Linked DNA regions of Homo sapiens: region 1 is linked to region 2. Evidence: promoter capture Hi-C in human tissues and cell types (Jung and others, 2019). All regions are on one chromosome and are shown on one strand. The core of a region is centred on a gene start or on the middle of the fragment in contact, and the rest is flanking DNA. Distances in the headings are between cores, read along the strand shown.

Evidence for each region. Contacts are between HindIII fragments. The study calls those that stand out against the background at their distance.
Region 1: a contact is called between a fragment that was not itself captured here and the fragment with the promoter of PLCD4 in region 2, in 5 of the 25 tissues and cell types used here (aorta, bladder, heart left ventricle and 2 more).

Annotation. Positions count from the first base shown.
Region 1 is chr2:218,560,396-218,564,090 of GRCh38, forward strand. It overlaps USP37 (ubiquitin specific peptidase 37), which reads right to left. Exons shown (of 26, transcript NM_020935.3): 2 at 2,278-2,418; 3 at 425-488. Among named protein-coding and RNA genes, the nearest start is that of USP37, 6.1 kb to the right of the region's middle. The HindIII fragment of the contact is 9,239 bases long and covers 1-3,695 here.
Region 2 is chr2:218,605,998-218,609,713 of GRCh38, forward strand. PLCD4 (phospholipase C delta 4) reads left to right here and starts at 1,902. Exons shown (of 16, transcript NM_032726.4): 1 at 1,902-2,073. The HindIII fragment of the contact is 15,744 bases long and covers 1-3,716 here.

The sequences.
Region 1 (3,695 bases), core at 94-2,593, 46 kb before region 2:
CAACCACAAAATAGGAATAGCAAATGTTTTAGTGTTGTAGAATGAAATAATACATACTAGGCACTCAGCAGACAGCAGTAATTAATATTAATGGAATTAATGTCTGTTTTCTGAATTTATTCCATGTCCATAATACCTCTTTCTCCAAAGACCTCAATAAATACAATGTTAACAGGAGTCACTAACTCAACTATCTATAGGGGCTAGCAGGTGACAGAAATGACTTAAGCAGGCAAAATTTGAACAATTGCTACCCAATCTAGCCAATTATTACCATGTAGAAATAGCGAACCTAGCATTGCCAGACCATCTAACTTTTCAAGAAAATAAAGACATCCAAACGTTTATGTAAAACTGTCCATTTTTAATTGTTGGCAATGAATTCAAATTTATTTTTAACAGCTACAAATCAAACAAAACTCACCTACAGGCAGGATACAGTTTGGGGGCCCCTAGTTGGAGGTCTCTGGTTACTGTATGGCAAATAACTGAAGATAAAAGAAGATATATGAAAACACTTTCGAGAGTTTAAAGGTGTTAAGTATCATAAGTACTCTATTATTATTCACTCATCTCATCAAAAATTTTTAAGTGCTTACTATGGGCAGATTTAGATATTAGTATAATGTGCTGGGTAATATGAATTCGTCAAAGTAATAGAGTCCATTAATGTTTATAGAACTGTCTGTTAACATGACATTTGGCTCAAACTAGTAATGCTACAGAGCTACAGAAACTTGAGCCAGCAATGTATATCTGTAATACTTTTTTCTGCAATTATAATTTGTGACTTTATTGTTGGATACATCCTTGAGACTTTTTTCCACTCCGCCACTCAGTGCTACAAAGAATACATCACTCTTCTACTCCAGTTTCCCATGCCAGAAACAGAAGACTTGTCTTTGGCTTCCTTCTTGATAATTATTGGTATTAGATTAGAGATGGAAAGTCAGGAGAATCCCATCAATTCTGCCTCCACAGATCGGGAGCTGTGGCTGATGCCTGTAATCCCAGCACTTTGCGAGGCCGAGGTGGGCAGATCACCTGAGGTCAGGAGTTTGAGACCAGCCTGGCCAACATGGTGAAACCCCATCTCTACCAAAAATACAAAAATTAGCCAGGTGTGGTGGCGTGCGCCTGTAATTCCAGCTACTTGGGAGGCTGAGGCAAGAGAATCGCTGGAATCCGGGAGGCAGAGGCTGCAGTGAGCCGAGATCATACCACTGCACTCCAGCCTGGAGCCAGACTCTGTCTCAGAAAAAAAAAAAAAAAAATTCTACCTCCATACACCTTTCAGACAGCCTTATAATGAACTGCAGATCAAATCATATCCCTCTCTTGCTTTATATCATTCAATAGCTCTCCACTTGTTCTCGCAATAAAATCTAAACTCACTAATGTGACGTAGAGGCCCTTCAGGACTCAGGCCCTGCTTACCTGTCTATTCCCAATAAAACCCCCAAATCCTTCTGAATTACTTATAATTTCCTCAAAAATCTCTATGTTCTCATGCCACTATACCTTTGCATACACAGAGGTCATGTCTAGAGGATTTTTATGTGTTCTCCCCATCCCCAACCCTCCTTAATTTCTTCTCCTGGCTCTAAAATCAAGACTCAATTTACACATTACCCTCTTTAAAAAGCTTTATATAAAAGATGTAGGACATAAAATTGGCAGAACCAATATAATAAACTTTTTCATAATGCCTCAATTTAGTTCATTACCTGCTTTTGCACTAAATGAATTGACAGCTACATTTGCTCATTCATTATATTATCAGGGCTTGCTCTACTTGGTTAAGAGTAAAAAACTAAGTTTCTTTTTCAGCATGAAGCATGATCCAGTAACAGTTAAACTTCCTATGAACCTAAGACAAAGACAGGGTTTCCTTAAACTCGGTAATGGTAATTGTCTTATTAAAGCAAAAAAATAAGAAGACAAAAGATAATTAAAATGAATTATTCTTTAAATATGTCCAGAGATTCTTTCTCTAAATTTCTTCACAATTATTAAAATTACTGTTCAACTTTGAGCATCACCATGAATGCTCAAAGCAACAATATTAGCAAAAATGTTTCTATGCCCTGTACATTTATTTAAGTGCTCACATTTTAGGTACTGCTTTGAAAACATCCTTAATCAGAGAGCATTCAGTGGTAAATAAAGTATGGCCAAAACACAAAAACTATTACTACAAAACAAACACAAAACTGTCAGTTCCCGCCAGATTGCATGCTCTTTGAAACATATATCCAAAACAAAAACATTACTTACTTTTCAGTGACTTTTACCGAAAAACCCTATGTAATAGCAATTCACCTTTATTCTGATCCTTGTGCCAAAGGCAAAGCACTCTTCTTGGGACACTACTCATATTCTGCAGCTATGCCAGTTCTCCGGAAGCCATCAACTCAGCTAAAGAAAATAAAAATGTGCTTTTTAAAAAGAACCCAATATACAAAATTAATACTTAAAAGAAAGTGGGCTGGGCACGGTGGCTGACGCGAGTAATCCCAGCACTTTGAGAGGTGGAGGCGGGCAGATAACCTGAGGTCAGGAGTTCGAGACCAGCCTGACCAACATGGAGAAACCCCGTCTCTACTAAAAATACAAAATTAGCTGGGCGTGGCAGTGCATGTCTGTAATCCCAGCTACTCGGGAGGCTGAGGCAGGAGAATTGCTTGAACCCAGGAGGTGGAGGTTGCAGTGAGCAGAGATCACGCCATTGCACTCCAACCTGGGCAACAAGAGCAAAACTCCATCTCAAAAAAAAAAAAAAAGGAAAGTGATCGTTTATACAACAAAGATTAACTTCTTGGTTATTTAAAAACTACAGATTACCTTAATGAAAATATTTAAAATATGATGCACAACACACAGAGACACACATAAAAGATCAACAGAACTTTAGGAACTTATCTGCTGTGCATAATGAGGGATTACAGGATGAGCCTGCACCTTGTTCAACTTGTACCTTGGTTTATTCATTCTTGCTACATTTTGAAACTAAGAAGTCAGTGAGAAAGAATATGTCCTTTGTTCACTTTATAAACATTGTTACATAATAATGTCTTAAGTCTTAAAACTTCCATAACATGTTGATACTATTTCAAAAGGTGGGTAAACTTGGTGCTTTCACTTTTCTTTCAAAGCTAACATTGTTTCTCAAATTAGGCTTCACTAGGCCTGAACTTTCTCTGAAGTTCTACCCGCACATCTCTCACTGCCTATCTGAATGCTACAACATCAACTTTAAACTCCTTTGTTCATTTAGTAAACAACATTTATTAAGCTACTGCACTTTCAAGGCACCCTGGTAGGCATATAGATGTGAAGATGATACAGTCCATGCCCTCATTAAGAAGCTCCTAGAGGCCAGGCACGGTGGCTCACACCTGTAATCCCAGCACTTTGGGAGGCAGAGACAGGCAGATCACCTGAGGTCAGGAGTTCGAGACCAGCCTGGCCAATGTGGTCTCGAACACATTGAGACCACAATGTGTTCTCACTAAAAATACAAAATTTAGCTGGGTGTGGTGGCACACACCTGTAGTTCCAGCTACTTGGAAGGCTGAGGCAGGAGAGTCATTTGAACCTGGGAGGCAAAGGTTGCAGGGAGCAGAGATCACACCACTACACTCCAGCCTGGGTGAGGGAGCAAGACTCCGTCTCAAAAGAAAGAAAAAAAAAGA
Region 2 (3,716 bases), core at 652-3,151:
ACCCAAGAGGGAAGGAGGTTGGGCAGCATTAAATTGATGCAAATAGTGACTCAGAAAGATGGTATATAATCTGGGGGTATAGAAGAGGAGTGTGGACTGTGAAGGTGAGGCTTGGAAAAATAAGCTGGCCATGTTGGGGAAGTAGAAATGGGAGAGCAAGACAAGCATGTAAAACAGGGCCTCTATTAAGTCAAATCTGAAATCAGCACAGTTTAAACTACGATGCCCCCCAATCTTCCTGTTCCCCATGAATGGCCTCCCTCCTAATGTGTCCCCTTCCTTCATACTACTACTCTTCTATCAAAACCTGCTCTCAGTAAAGAATATAGACAACCCAACCTAGGTATAAATTATTTAAAATCTACTTTGACCTTAGGATTGAATTTTTAAAAAATTATTTATAATCGGCTGGGTGCAGTGGCTTACGCCTGTAATCCTAGCACTTTGGGAGGCCAAGGCAGGTGGATTGCCTGAGCTCAGGAGCTCAAGACCAGCCTGGGCAACACGGTGAAACCCCGTCTCTACTAAAATACAAAAAAAAGTAGCTGGGGGTGGTGGCATGCACCTGTAATCCCAGCTACTCAGGAGGCTGAGACAGGAGAATTGCTTGAACCCGGGAGGTAGAGGTTGCAGTAAGCCAAGATCACGCCATTGCACTCCAGCCTGGGCAACAGCGAGACTCTTATCTCAAAAAAAAAAAAAAAAAAAAAAAAAAATATATATATATATATATATACACACACACACATATACATATACATATATGTATATTTAAAATCATTAAGCCTTCAAAAGTTAACACAGATATATGATATTTTAAATGAGACCTAAAAAAATAAATTTAAAAACACATATAGAAAATATATCAAGAGAATGTATAGCTTAATAAATTATTAAGTGAAGACCCTTGTTAGCACTTAGAACTAGAAATAGAGTTTAGCTAGCTATGCCAGAAGCCCCCTCTGTGTCCCATCTCACCACAATTCCTCCCCCTCCCAACAGTAACCACTATCCTGACTTTTATAGTAATCACTTAGGAGGATTTTATTTTAATGGGACTAAAAAATGTAGCTATAATCACTAATGGTAAAATATTAGGCAGTTGAGGGATGCTTGTGGAAACCATGATAGGCAGCCAGACGTCAGCACACTTAAAATTACACCATTTCACACAGTTCCCCTCTGAGCCTATGCTTCATCTCTGCACACATCTTTATAAACATGCATGTATGTCCTGAAGGTGCTACCTCCATTCTGAGGGCTATGACTTATAACCCAGAGGTGCTGAACAGATGCTTGTAGGAGGAACGAATGGATGTTTAAAAAAAAATGAGCTGTTTCACACGTTCATCTATGCATTCTTTCAATATTTAATGAGTGCCTAAAATATACATAGATTCTAACCTATCTGTCCCTCTACATTCTATCATCATTCCTGTCCTCCCCTTCTCCTCGTCTTCCTCTTTTCCCATCTTATTTCTTTCTTTTCCTGTGGGACGGAGCTACAGTGAGTGCCCTGCAGGCAGGATTCAGAGATACAGGAGCAGGCCAGTGGAAACAGACACTATGGAAAGGAGCCAGATTAAATAAGGGCAAAAACAGCCGTATTACATGCAGGAACCAGAATGAAAAGCAGTGATTCACAGAGCACTGCAACTGAGGACACTCCCTTCACTTTGAGAGCTACTGCGGGATTGGGGTCAATGAGGGCTGGCATCAAGATGAAGGGCAGCCAGGCTCCTCCCTGGAGATGTGCTGCCCTTAATCCTTCTCTCCCCACCCCACCCCCACTACTCCCTCACATTGACCAGTGTCCTGGGCCTTTAAGAGTTGGATGGGCTGGACTGGAGAGAGCTCACACCTCTCCCCTTCTTACTGCTTCCCTCCGGCTATAACTTGCCAGTCACAGCAGCCAGCTGCTGTAGAAGAGGGGAGGAAACAAGCCAGTGCAAGGGGAGCAAAAGAGAAAAGGAGCCAGGCTGGGCTTCCTGATCCCACAGCATCGCAGAGCTCGGGAGGCACAGCTCACAGACACAGGAAACACAGGACTGCTATTCTGCTCTCCTGCCCACGGTAAGGATCTGGAAGCTCTGACTACCCTCTGCTCTAAGCTCTGTCTTCCCTGAGTCCCTACCTCTGCCCTCTAGATGCTTATCCACCCTGATTAAATTGTACCCTAGACTCCTTTCCTCATCCCAACAGCTCTACAGGGCTCCCACCTCCTGGTTCTCTCTAGCTTATCCTCCTTTATCCTTACAGCTTTCCTCCTGGCTGTGTCAGTCGCCCTTTATATGAGGTACCTCTTAGCTTATGCAGGGCCAGAAGTGCCAACCCTAGCCACTCCTGAGGTGAACTCCACCCCCAATAAGGGAAGAAAAAATTGGAGTAGCTAAGCTTTAGCATAGATTCATTAACAGTTTGTTGAGGGTTGCAAAATAGGGGTTGGCCAAGAACCATGGGGAATCAGAGATCCCTGGTAATAGAGAGAGTTATGAAAGTCCCTTAGAAAGTTCTCTAAAGAACTTGTTCTTTGCCTATTCCATGGGCCAGAGCAGTTTCTTAGTGCACCAGAGTGCTACGTTGGTAAGAAAACCTACTTCTAGTTCTGCCTGTGCCATTAACTAGCTACGGGACCTGGAGCCACAACTTCCAGATCTGTGATACGAGAGAGTTTAGGGTTTCCCAGACTTGCCTGTGTACCAAGTGTACTTGTTAAAAATAAATATATTATTGAGCCCCACCCTGGGTAACTCTGATCTGGTAGATTTTTGGGTAGGGCTAAGGATCTCAATTTCAAGACATTCCAGAGGCTATTGATGTAGCTGGGAATGTCTGGATTAGATGTGTTATAAAAGAACTGGCCGGGCGCGGTGGCTCACACCTGTAATCCCAGCACTTTGGGAGGCCGAGGCGGGTGGATCACGAGGTCAGGAGATTGAGACCATCCTGGCTAACATGGTGAAACCCCGTCTCTACTGAAAATACAAAAAATTAGCCGGGCGAGGTGGGTGGCGGGTGCCTGTAGTCCCAGCTACTCGGGAGGCTGAGGCAGGAGAATAGCGTGAACCCCGGGGGGCGGAGCCTGCAGTGAGCCAAGATCGCACCACTGCACTCCAGCCTGGGCGACAGCGAGACTCTGTCTCAAAAAAAAAAAAAAAAAGAACCTTCAAGCTCCAACATTCTGTGACCTGTGACCAGAGCCAATTTGTCCTCTATATGAACCAGGTTAGGCATAATCCTTCTCAGAAGCAAGGGAGTAGACAAAATGATTCTCTTCTTTCTTGCCCCTCAGAGAGACCTGAGACACCCTGAATCCCACTGTAATCTCCTTGGTGCCATTGGTAACTCTGCCAAAGTCCATCTCTAGGTGACATGAAGTCTCTTAGAAATTGAGGACCAAATTGCGCTCTGCAGCTCTGGGCTACTTCCCATCTCATTTTGTGTCCCTATTTTCGTATCTGTATTAGAGAGGTAATTACCATATCATTGAAGATCTCCATATATGTGTCTATGAGTTAATATTTAAGACCAACCTTTCTTATTATCAGATGTCATCCTCTGTGTTTTTCCCAGTGCCCTCACTCCCAAACCCTTTGTTCCTTCTCTTCTCATTGCACCTGCATCAGCTGTGGGCATCCTTCCCATTCTACCATTAGACACCAGAGGAAACAGCAAGACCTAGAATACCTAGGTTCTAACTCACATTGTCTGGGCAG